Linked DNA regions of Homo sapiens: region 2 is linked to region 1. The links are contacts of gene promoters, found by promoter capture Hi-C in blood cells and fetal thymus (Javierre and others, 2016). All regions are on one chromosome and are shown on one strand. Each heading gives the region's core, a stretch centred on a gene start or on the middle of the fragment in contact. The rest is flanking DNA. Distances are from core to core; before and after follow the strand shown.

Region 1 (6,289 bases), core at 1,626-4,125:
CGAACCTGAGTAACATCTTTGATACTCCCTCCTCTCTCATTTGCAACCCTTCGTCAACAAGTTCTGCCTGTTCCTCACCGTAAATATCTCTATCTCATCCTTCTCTGCTACTACATACTCAAATTTGAGCCTAAAGTAATCTCTAGCCCCAATGAGTATACAATAGCCTGCTAATTAGGCTCCTGACTTCTACTTTCACCCTGCTACAATATATTTTCCACCTCGTACACCAAAGAGCTCCTCCTAAAATACAAATCATAACAGGCCTCTGCTTAAAACCTCTCAATGATTCCCCAAGACCCTTAAGATAAAGAAAACTCTGTATTATTCCCATTTTTTGAAGGGGAGCCTAAGAATTAATTAGGTTAAGTGACTGGCTTAAGATAATTGAGCTAGGATGGTGGAGTTGGGATTGAAGCTTGCAGGGTCCCAAGTTCTTAATTATCATGCTATCTTCTTAACAAAGCTTTCAAATTCCTTCATGATCTGGCCTCAGTTTCTGCATTCCCATCTCTTACTACTCCCTTCACTTGATTTCTACACTCTAGCTCTAAAAAAATCATTTCAGTTCCTCAAAGGAACCAGGCTGTCTTCTTTTTTTTTTTTTTTTGACAGAGTCTCACTCTGTCACCCAGACTGGAGTGCAGTGGTACGATCTCAGCTCACTGCAACCTCCGCCTCCCGGGTTCAAGTGATTCTCCTGCCTCAGTCTCCCGAGTAGCTGGGACTACAGGTGTGTGCCACCATGCTTGGCTAATTTTTTAAGTTTTGTATTTTTAGTAGAGATGGGGTTTCACCGTGTTGGCCAGGCTGGTTTGTTTGTTTGTTTTTCTTTTGAGACAGGGTCTCGCTCAGCCACCCAGGCTGGAGTGCAGTGGTGCGATCTCAGCTCACTGCAACCACCATCTCCCCGGTTCGAGCCATTTTCCCATCTCAGCCTCCCAAGTAGCTGGGATTACAGGCACTTGCCATCATGCCCAGCTAATTTTTCTATTTTAGTAGAGACAGGGTGTCAACATATTGGCCAGGCTGGTGTTGAACTCCTGACCTCAGGTGATCTGCCCGCCTCGGGCTCCCAAAGTGCTAGAATTACAGGCATAAGCCACCGTGCCCAGCCAGGCTGGTCTTTAACTCCTGCCCCCAAGTGATCCGCCCACCTCAGCCTCCCAAAGTGCTGGGATTACAGGCATGAGCCACCGTGCCCAGTCTAACTGAATTTTTTTTTTTTTTGACACGGAGCTTGCTCTGTCACCCAGGCTGGAGTACAGTGGCGCAATCTCGGCTCACTGCAACCTCCACCTCCCGGGTTCAAGCAATTCTCCTGTCTCAACCTCCCGAGTAGCTGGGATTACAGGCATATGCCACCACGCCCAGCTAATTTTTGTATTTTTAGTAGAGACAGGATTTCATCATGTTGGCCAGGCTGGTCTCAAATTCCTGACCTCAGGAGATCCACCCGCCTAGGCCTACCAAAGTGCTGGGATTACAGGCGTGTGCCGCTGCGCCCAGCCTAGCTGGAGATTTTTAATAGAGGATCCTCTGTCCACAGCACTCCTTCCCCTCACCTTTTTCTTCTTTCCTTAAATAGCTAATTCCTACCTTCCAAGGGTGGCTCTATGAAGCCTTTGCTGACTCCTCCAACCTGGTTTAAGTGACTTCCTATGCCCTTTATGGTATCCTGTGTTACTACTACCATGATTATGATGCATTATAATTGCCTGCTAACTTACTGTCCAGGCCCGAGTTAGAAATGCATCCTTTTTCTTTTTTTTTTTTTGAGACGGAGTCTTGCTCTGTCGCCCAGGCTGGAGTGCAGTGGCGTGATCTCGGCTCACTGAAAGCTCTGCCTCCCGGGTTCACGCCATTCTCCTGCCTCAGCCTCCCGAGTAGCTGGGACTACAGGCGCCCGCCACCATGCCCGGCTAAATTCTTTTTTTTTTTTTTTTTTCAGTAGAGACGGGGTTTCACCGTGTTAGCCAGGATGGCCTCGATCTCCTGACCTCGTGATCCGCCCGCCTCGGCCTCCCAAAGTGCTGGGATTACAGGCGTGAGCCACCGCGCCCGGCAGAAATGCATCTCTTATTCACCACTGTACCTCTCTCTGGTAACCAGCATAATGCTAGGCATATAATAAGCACTAAATAAATATTTGTTGAATTAAGAGTCTTTAGCAAGAAAGCCAAGTGCCTTAAGCCTAGAGTATAGTTTCAGCCTGGAAAGGAGTAGCCAATAATGCCTAATGGACTCAAGTGGTCACAAGATGCCATCATTGAGAAGGGACGTTCAAAGATCACAGAACTGAACACATGGAAAAAGCTGAGATCCAGGAGGAGACCTGAGGTGTCCAAAGCCACAGAGAAAAGCAGCAGCAGCAGCAGTACAACAATTTTGGCTCAAATCTGACTTCTAAGCTGGTTTGCAGGCTGTAAGTTCAGTGCAGAAGGCCAATCTCTAGGGTATCCACCTCTGCCATGCGGGCAGATTAAGATCCGGTTTTCTGTAGAGCAGGCTTGGCGCTCAGGTAAGGGATATGGATGGGTTCGCAATTGACGAGTGAGTGGATACAGAGTCTGGTTTGGAGTTCCAGGTCTGAGATCCAGTTTGGGTCGCGGGTTCAGGTCTCCCTCCCTCCCCTCCCCTCCCCCTCGGCGCACTCACATGCCACCCTGTGAATGACCCAGAAGGTGATGCCCACCTCCGCCAGGCAGAGGCAGGCGGCCACCAGCAGCGTGTAGCGCGGCTCCCGCAGCAGCAGGCGCCGCTCTTGCCAGGCGCGCTGCAGCCATTGCTTGCAGAGTCCCTCTGCCTGGGCCGCGGAACCGGACCGGCCGCGTTTCCGCAGCCCAGCCGCCATCTTAACGGTGCGCCGCTTGTGTGGGCCCACCACCCCCGGAAACCCGAACCTTCGACACTTAGGTTCCGCTTCCCGTGCCTGGCGTCCCACCAGGCTAAGCGCCGATCCGAGTAGCCAGTCTTCATTTACTCCACTAAAATGTAATTTTTCTGCATTTGTCTCCTCTGATGCACTCCACGCTCCATAGGAGCAGGGACAATGTCTTACTCCTCAGTTTATACCCAGCCCTGGGTACACAGGCGCTAATTTAGAACGAATGTCCAGAAAAGCAACATTCCTGCCTACCTCCCCCACAACCGCTGAAGCCAGCATTCTCCTTCGCCTGCGCTGGGAACATCTGTGTTCATGCTGTCTCTCCAGGAGGGCAAAGCCCCTGTTCGCGCCCCTCCTGCCTGCCCTTCGAGCCTTCCGGATGCTGAGAAAAATGAACCTTTCACTAATTTTCAGATTTCCTGATAAAAGTCATTCATATTGAAAATATGAGAGGACGCAGTGATGAGCCCACGTGAGTCTGACACCTTGAGTGCGGCCCTAGGAAATGACTTGGCAGTACAGCCGGAGGATTCAGGGTCTGGACGATAGTTTTCCCAGCCGGAGGATTCTTCGAAGAGCGCTTAGTAAAGGACGGAAGTTCCACGTGTTTGTGTTGAGCAACTGCAGGTGGTGGGCGGAGACACCAGCGCCCCGCCTTCTGCATCCTGCCTTCCGTATTGGCTGAAGGGCCGGCGGCTCTGGCTGCCCGGCGGTTGAGAGCATGGCCTCTCCAGGGGCAGGTAGGGCGCCTCCGGAGTTACCGGAGCGGAACTGCGGGTACCGCGAAGTCGAGTACTGGGATCAGCGCTACCAAGGCGCAGCCGATTCTGCCCCCTACGATTGGTTCGGGGACTTCTCCTCCTTCCGTGCCCTCCTAGAGCCGGAGCTGCGGCCCGAGGACCGTATCCTTGTGCTAGGTGGGTAATCCCGGCGCGGCCCCGCCAGGTAGAGCTGGCAGGACCGGCGCCGCATGGGCTTGGCCTGGTCCGCTTTCCTCCCGCCTGTCTATCCCTCTTGGAGGACGCCTGCGTTGGGACGCGAGATCCAGCTCCTTCAGAGTCCCGGCTGTATTTAGTCAAGGCTAACAGGAGTAAGAGATTGTTGGTCCCGGGGCCCTCTGGAGAAAGACAGTCCCTCAGAGTTTGAGCGTTGGGGGTACCCAAGACCCTGTCCGGACCCTCGGGAGGCAGGCAGCCTTGGGGACCGGATTGCTCAGAGGACCGAGATCAAGTCCTAGCGCTAATTGACTTGTAAAACTTAGGACAAGTCATGAACCCGTTCTGAGCTTTAGATTCAGTTCTAGAAATGGTACTGCGAGTTCACATCGGAGGCGGCACGCGCAGGCACCTCGAGAATAATGCCCAGCGCTTTTCTTTTTGCCCCTGGGCACTGGGAGCCAGAGTCACCTAGAGAGAGTCCTGTCTGAAACTTGGTCCTATGCCTTAGAGAGTGAGAACAGCACCCTCTAGGGGTGGAGGGGAGATTGCCGCCCAGGGTGATACGATTCCCCAAAGGGAGACGTGCTGGAGGAAAGGTAGGGCTCTGGGGTGTTCGGCTGACCTCTTGAGGTTCTCTCCTAGTGTCAGCCTTGGAGGCGCTAGTAAAGTTTGAATGAGCAACAGATTTTCTTCCAATTGTCGTTTTTACTTTGCTCTTTGTAAAAGCCTTTGTATGTTTAAGTGAAGTCTTTAATAAATAAAAAAGGTATATGTAATATATATGTAAGGTATAAATAACAAATCTAATGTGTGTGTCTATTCCACTCAGTTTGAGAAATAGAACATTACTAGGGATAGAAAAAAAAGTATAATTTAGTGGTTAATAACTTGGCTGGGCGCGGTGGCTCACGCCATTAATCCCAGCACTTTGGGAGGCCAAGGCGGGCGGATCACCTGAGGTCGGGAGTTCGAGATCAGCCTGACCAACATGGAGAAACCCCATCTCTACTAAAAATACAAAAAATTAGTCGGGTGTGGTGGCGCATGCCTATAATCCCAACTACTTGGGAGGCTGAGGCAGGAAAATCGCTTGAACCAGGGAGGCGGAGGTTGTGGTGAGCCAAGATCATGCCATTGCACTCCAGCCTGTGCAAGAAGAGCAAAACTCTGTCTCAAAAAAAAAAAAAAAAAAAGAAAAGAACTTGGACTCTGGGCTGGCCTCATGATTCATGCTCATAATCCCAGCACTTTGGGAGGCCAAGGTGGAAGGATCACTTGATCGCAGGAGCTCAAGACCAGCCTGGGCAACATAGTGAGATCCCATCTCTACAAAAAATTTAGGCCAGAGCAGTGGCTTATGCTTGTAATCACAACACTTTGGGAGACCAAGGCGGGTGGATCATTTGAGGTCAGGAGTTCAAGACAAGCCTGGCCAACATGGTGAAACCCCGTCTCTACTAAAAATACAAAAATCAGCCAGGTGTGGTGGCACGTGCCTGTAATCCCAGGTACTTGGGAGGCTGAGGCAGGAGAATCACTTGAGCCCAGGAGGTGGAGGTTGCAGTGAGCTGAGATTGCACCACTCCACTCCAGCCTGGGTGACAGAGTAAGACCCTGTCTCAAAAAAAAAAAAAATTAAAACTTAGCTGGGCATGGTGGCCTGTGCCCATAGTCCGAGTTACTCAAGAGGCTGAGGCAGGAGGATCGTTTGAGCCAGGAGATCCAGGCTGCAGTGAGCTGTGATGGCTCCAATGGGCTCCAGCCTAGGCGACAGAATGAGACCCTGTCTCAAAACAAAGCAAAACAAAAAACAAACAAACAAAAAACCACCTTGGACTCCAGAGGCAGTGAATTATGTTGGAATCTTGGCTCGGCTTATACTGGCTGTGTAATCCTGGACAAAATACTTGAATTTCTGTGCTTCCATTTTCTCAACCTTAAAAACATAAGCATATTTATTAATTGGGCTTTAAGTTGATTAAATGAGCATGAAGGATACCTAGAACAATGCCTGGCAAAATGAAAAGTATATTCAAGGTTCTCTGTGTGGTCCTCCTAAAACCCCTTCTCCCCACAAGTAAACACTTTCTTGAATCTGTGATTTTAAACCATTGCACTTATTTATAGATTTACCTTAGATCTGTTTTCTCAAGCTTTAGTGTGTATCAAAATTACCTGGGGAACTAGACTGCACTGTGAGATTCTAATTCCAGGGATGGTCTAATGTGGGTCTCAGGAATCTGTATGTTCAACAAGCTTCACAGCAGATTCTTATGCTGGTGATTGGCAGAGTAACACTGCCTTAAAATCTGCTTGACTGGTTTTTCACCAAACTGATGCTTTAAAAAAAATCTGCTTAACTGGGAACTATCCTTTTCTGGATAGGAGGGGCAAGAAGTCTAAAAATCAAAAGGGGAATTTCTAGAATCCCCAAGATGTAAGAACAGGACCCACAACTTGGGAA
Region 2 (6,134 bases), core at 99-2,598, 700 kb before region 1:
ATGGGGCTTTCTGATAATGTTAACAGTTTTCATTTTGGTGTTATTTGTCTACCTTTTCTCACATGCATATCTTTCCATAGTTTACATGCAATTTTGCATCTTGCTTTGCCCCCTGTTTTCATTATAATATTTTTCCTACGGTGCTCCATGCTTTTCATAATGACTATTTATTATATTGCTACCAATTTCAACAGAGGCATAATATGAAAATCATTCTCTCACTGTGGACATTTAGGTTGCTTCCAGTATTTTGTTTTTATACGTGACGTGGTAATCTTTGCATTAAGCATTTTTTCCCAGTTTGGAATATGGACGGCCTACATTTTTTCAGGCACTTTGCTGGATTCTTTTTATTTCATTCAGTCTTCATAATATCAAGTAGATAGCATGGTGTCCATTTCATCCTTGGGGGAGCTCACTTTGATGGGAAGAGTGGTTTCCCCATGATGTCTAAACTGAAAACAGGCCTCTTCACAGAGAACAGAAATGTGGCTAACAGGTCATTTCCTATGACCCCTCAGCTCCCCAAGACTCTTTTGCTAGTGTAGGCTACATAAGCTGAAAATGAGGAGGAAATGTAAAAATCAGAGCCTCCTTGTGCTCATACACACATGCACAGGCAGGATACTGTTGGAACATTCATTCCAGTTTATGTCTGGGGGCTGAGCTGACAGACCCCCATAGCAGCAAGGACCCAGCATGCCTTAGGACATCAGTCTGGATCAAAGGGTTAAAAAAGAGACAAGGAAGCAGGGTCAGGGTGTGCAAGGTGAAAAGACAGTGCGCTCTGAAAATATATGGGACCTCACTGTGGCTAGAACCAGAAACTGGTTCTCACCATTTGGGAAGCCCAGCTCACTGCAAAATATGGCACACTCTGTAAGTGACAGTGACCTGTGAGGGCAGCCCTGCTGTGATTCCCAGGGTTGGCAGAGGGAGGGGAGTCCTAGTGATGAGGGGAGGGGTTATCAGGCTTTTCTCTGCCCTGTCTCATGACTGGCCCTTCCTTCATGCATAGAAAAGCTTCCAGGCTGAGGCTGAGTCATTAGCAATCTCCTTTGTTGATGCTGCTGCCTGGAATCCTTGTCTGGATTCCTGTCTCACTCCTGTCTTGTACCGCAGTCTCTAGGTCTGGTTCCTTGAGGCTATGTTGAGAGGACTTTACCCGCCAGCTACAAAAATCAGGCATAAGGCCAGGAATGGGAAGGTTATTGTGAGCACAATCTATGCACTTGTTAATCATTATTACATATTAACCAATTACTGCATGGCAGAAAAGTGGGGCAAGAGACTACTCTTAAGCCACATGTAGATGTTGTAATCCTGAGCTTTGTCTCCATAATGGGGTAAGATGTCAGAAAAGAGTCAGAAAGCCCAGGTGATAGAATAAGTGCCAAGAACATATACACCATGGAATACTGTGCAGCCATAAAAAGGAATGAGTTCATGTCCTTTGCAGGGACATGGATGAAGCTGGAAACCATCATTCTCAGCAAACTAACACAGCAACAGAAAACCAAACACCGCATGTTCTCACTCATAAGTGGGAGTTGAACAATGAGAACACATGGACACAGGTAGGGGAACAACACAACCCGTGGCCTGTCGGCGGGTGGGGGACAAGGGGAGGGAGAGCATTAGGAAAAATACTTAATGCATTCAGGGCCTAAAACCTAGATGATGGGTTGATAGGTGCAGCAAACCACCATGGCACGTGTATACCTATGTAACAAACCCGCGCATTCTGCACATGTATCCCAGAACTTAAAGTAAAATTTAAACAAATTTTAAAAAAGAGAATAAGTGCCAAGAAAAACAAGAATGAGTTAAGGCCATGTAGGTCTGTATTAAAAATCTGGCTAACAGCAAATGTGTTGAGGATTGCTGCTGCCACAGTGGGTACACTTGAGAACTCAAGTGAAGCCAATGATTGTAACACCAGGGTCAGGCCCTATATTTTCCACTTTTAATATTTTCCAATATTGTGGATCAGAACCAATATGATAGTAAATATTTCAGCATTATATATCTATAATCCCTTATCTGTAGTTTCAAAATTCCCAAAGTGCTGATAAATGTAAAGTTTTTTGTAACTTATTTCATGGCTAAATCCAACTTGAATGGCACTCGTCAGGTCGGGACACCTGAGTCTTGCTCTGTTGCCCCGGCTGGAGTGCAGTGGCATGATCTTGGCTCACTGCAACCTCCGCCTCCCAGATTCAAGCAATTCTCCTGCTTCAGCCTCCCGAGTAGCTGGGACTACAGGCATGTGCCACCACGCCCAGCTAATTTTTTGTATTTTTAGTAGAGATGGGGTTTCACCATGTTAGTGCTTGACTCTTAAATAGGAACAGATATCCAAAGACTACCAGATATTTAAGTATAGCCTCTAAAATAAAAGACAGAGGCCAGGTGTGGTGGCTCATGCTTGTAATCCTAGCACTTTGGGAGGCCGGGTCAGGAGGATCCCTTGAGCCCAGGAGTTTGAAACTATCTGGGCAACATAGGGAGACCTTGTCTCTAGGAAATAAATAAATACATACATAAAATAGAATAAAAGAGACAAAAACAAAGAGAAAAATACAGTGAAAACAAACAGTAAAAAACAAACAAAAACAGAAGAGTGGTTTTTTAAAAAATATAAACCTCAAAGAGATTAAGTGAAAATATGACCTATACAAAACAAGAACAGGATGTTATAAAAAGGAAGCTTCATACATAAAACAAGAAAAAAGTCTTGGAAGTTAAAAACTGAGATTCTCAACAGGTTGGAAGATAAAATTGAGAAAAATCTTCCAGAAAGTAAAACAGAAAGATAAGAGGATGGACAACAGGAGAGAGAAGATGAGAAAGCTAGAGACTGTTCTAGAAGTCCACATCTACTGAATAAGTGATCCAGAAATAGTAAACAAGGAAAACAGTAACCATGTAATTACCAGGCAGTAATATGAGGAAATGTTCAGGATTAAAGGATGTGACTCTCCAGATTAAAAGGGTTCATCAAATGCATAGCATAATGGTTGGAGTAAAACACACATACACACACACACACGCACGCACACACACACCCCTCCAAGGCACATCATTGTGAAATATCAAAATGTTATTTAAAATCAAAGAAAGGCCAGGCGTGGTGGGTGGCTCACAGCTGTAATCCCAGCAATTTGGGAGGCGGAGGTGGGTGGATCACCTGAGGTCAGGAGTTCCAGACCAGCCTGGCCAACATGGTGAAACCCTATCTCTACTAAAAAAATACAAAAATTAGCCGGGCATGGTGGTACATCCTGTGGTCCCAGCTACTTGGGGGGCTGAGGTGGAAGAATTGCTTGAGCCCAGGGAGGCTGCAGTGAGCCATGATCAAGCTGCTGCACTCCAGCCTGGGCAACAGACCAAGACCCTGTCTCAAAACAAAACAAAAATATATGCGAGGCCTTAAAAATTTACTTCCTATGGGCTGGGCGCAGTGGCTCACGCCTGTAATCCCAGCACTTTGGGAGGCCAAGGTGGGTGGATCACGAGGTCAGGAGATTGAAACTATCCTGGCTAACATGGTGAAATCCTGTCTGTACTAAAAATAAAAAAAAATTAGCTGGGCGTGGTGGCGGGCGCCTGTAGTCCCAGCCACTAGGGAGGCTGAGGCAGGAGAATGGCATGAACCCAGGAGGCGGAGCTTGCAATGAGCGGAGATACTGCCACTGCACTCCAGCCTGGGCGACAGAGCAAGACTCTGTCTCAGAAAAAAAAAAAAAAAAAAATTACTTCCCATGCACTCTTTCTTAGGAAGTTATTGGAGAATGTGCTTATCAGGGTAAGATGGTAAACCAGGGAAGAGAAAGATAGGGGTTGAAGGGAGAAGGCTCCATTCAACATAGCAGACAGTCCCGGGGAATGATGGAGAAGCAGGTGAATCCCAGCCAGCGTGCAAATCCAGGGAACATGTGTAACATGATGCAAGGCAGGAGGATTCTGAGGAAATGGAACTGGTAGATTGTTTGATGCATTGGACCATATGAAAGATTTTTGTGAGCCTGTGAGCAAAAGACACCCCAAAACAAAGCAAATGAAAAAATGAGTGAATTAATAACTTCAGGAAAGACAAAAGGTTTACAAGAAAAGAAACGTGATCATTGAGTAATTTGGCTCAACAGAGAACAAGGTTTTCGTGAACATAATAATGTAAACTCTTGTTGTGATAACATTATGTTGAAAGATTACAGGGAAGGAAAGCTTATGGTAAGAGGTTAGGTAAGGATACTAAATCCTTATTTGAAATCAGTGAATGATGTCTAACACTGAAAAATCAAGAAAGAGCAGTATAAGTGTATTTTGCAGAAATATAGAGCTAGTGCCAGAAGAAACAAATAGAAGTTGAAAGTGGTAGCCTTTGGCGCATGAGACAGGGTGGAGGAGGAAATAGGAATTTTTGTTTTTTCATTATAAGCCTTTAAATACTATTTAACGCTTTGTTTACTATTTGCATATCTTTAATAAAAAATAAAATTTAATTTTAAAAAAATACATGAAAAACAGAAAGGCAGTGAAGAGACAGTTCAACAAAAAAAGAACTGCAGATGCCCCTTAAACATACGAAGAGATGTTTGATCTTACTAAAAATAAGAAAAATGCAAATTAAAGCTAAATTGAGATATTCTTTCTCATTTATCAGATTGGTAAAACTTCAGCGGTTGGATGACACCCTCTTTTGGTGATGCCGTGGGGGAACGCAACATGATTCAACCCCAATGAAAGAGAAGTTGCAATAACCGCTAAGACTGCAGATGCATTTGACTCAGCAAACCCCCTTCAAGAAATGCATATGAAAAAAACTCATGTTTCAGGTTATTCATTACAACATTGTTTGTAATAGCAAAATGTGGATTAGAAATAGTCCAGATGTCTGTCCGTAGGGGACTGTTTAATAAACTATTGTCAGTCCCTTAGTGGAAAGTAATTATTTTCTCAGTGAATAAAGGAAAAAAATGACATAATTTTATAACCAGCTTCCAGGCCCTCCAAAACACAGAGAGCTGTGTTGAAAGCCTCACAGACTGGTCGGGCGCGGTGGCTCACGCCTGTAATCCCAGCACTTTGGGAGGCCGAGGCGGGTGGATCTCGAGGTCAGGAGATGGAGACCATCCTGGCTAACACAGTGAAACCCCGTCTCTACTAAAAATACAAAAAATTAGCCGGGCGTGGTGGCAGGTGCCTGTAGTCCCAGCTACTCAGGGGGCTGAGGCAGGAGAATGGCCTGAACCCTGGAGGCGGAGTTTGCAGTGAGCAGAGATTGTGCCACTGCACTCCAGCCTGGGCGACAGAGCGAGACTCCGTCTCAAAAAAAAAAAAAAAAAAAAAAAAAGAAAGCCTCTCAGACAGAGAGACTCTTTGACCTCCCTAAACCTGAGCATACGAAGAACCCCTTTCAAAACCTCAGACACAAAGCGAGAGAGTGTGTCAGATTTAACGTCAGTCCTAGGTCTAAATCCCAGCTTGGCTACTTTTTATTTGCTGTGACACTCTGGACTTTGGCTCACCGTCGGTAGGCTGGGGATAGGACTCCCTGCCTTGTCAGGTTGTTGTGAGGGTGGAGTGGACTAGAGTATGTGATACAGAAGCTACAGGGCCTGGCCCACAGTAAGCGCTCCACAAACAGGAGTTGATAGGAATAGTAGCACCGGAAGAAAGAATCCTGTCTCCAGGACAGTATTCATTGTAGAAGGAAAGTCACGTTGAAAATCCCAAGAGAAGAAGCAAAAGTCACTTCTCTGAAGAGAAGAATTGAAGGAATTTCCTCTCATGACCAGGCAGTTTTGGGAGAGGCTCTGTATACACAGTCAGATGCCTTCACCCTCATGTTCTCCAGCTTCTCATTGCCGTTGCCTCCTCTGACGACCGGCAGAGACTTTCCCTAAGTATCCTGGATCAGCAGGGCTGGAAGGACCCAAGCCCAAATTCCCATTTAGGATGAGAAACCCAAGAACCAGAGAAGACCAGTGATCAACTCGAGGGCACACAGCCAGCGGGCCTGGTCCACAGCCAGGCCAACCCGCTAACAAAACTGCTTCCAGGTATGCATTTTATGATAGCAAGGGATACAAAAGGATCAACCTAAATGTGCGTCCCCAGGGCATTGAGCT

What was found. Contacts are between HindIII fragments. The CHiCAGO score rates a contact against its expected background, and 5 or more counts as called.
Region 2: a contact is called between the fragment with the promoter of KLHL6-AS1 here and the fragment with the promoter of ALG3 in region 1, in 2 of 17 cell types (neutrophils and naive B cells). The highest score is 5.9, in neutrophils.

The regions. Positions count from the first base shown.
Region 1 is chr3:184,246,087-184,252,375 of GRCh38, forward strand. ALG3 (ALG3 alpha-1,3- mannosyltransferase) reads right to left here and starts at 2,876. Exons shown (of 9, transcript NM_005787.6): 1 at 2,659-2,876. The coding sequence starts at 2,854. It overlaps EEF1AKMT4-ECE2 (EEF1AKMT4-ECE2 readthrough), which reads left to right and starts at 3,586. Exons shown (of 19, transcript NM_014693.4): 1 at 3,586-3,804. The coding sequence starts at 3,609. EEF1AKMT4 (EEF1A lysine methyltransferase 4) reads left to right here and starts at 3,586. Exons shown (of 3, transcript NM_032331.4): 1 at 3,586-3,804. The coding sequence starts at 3,609. RefSeq lists enhancers at 1,457-2,200, 2,201-2,944, 3,143-3,192, 3,273-3,332, 3,363-3,472. The HindIII fragment of the contact is 5,512 bases long and covers 465-5,976 here.
Region 2 is chr3:183,547,387-183,553,520 of GRCh38, forward strand. It overlaps KLHL6-AS1 (KLHL6 antisense RNA 1), which reads left to right and starts at 1,349. Exons shown (of 2, transcript NR_046687.1): 1 at 1,349-1,577; 2 at 4,667-4,940. All of the region lies in intron 1 of KLHL6 (kelch like family member 6), which reads right to left. RefSeq lists a silencer at 5,180-5,349. The HindIII fragment of the contact is 1,687 bases long and covers 1,022-2,708 here.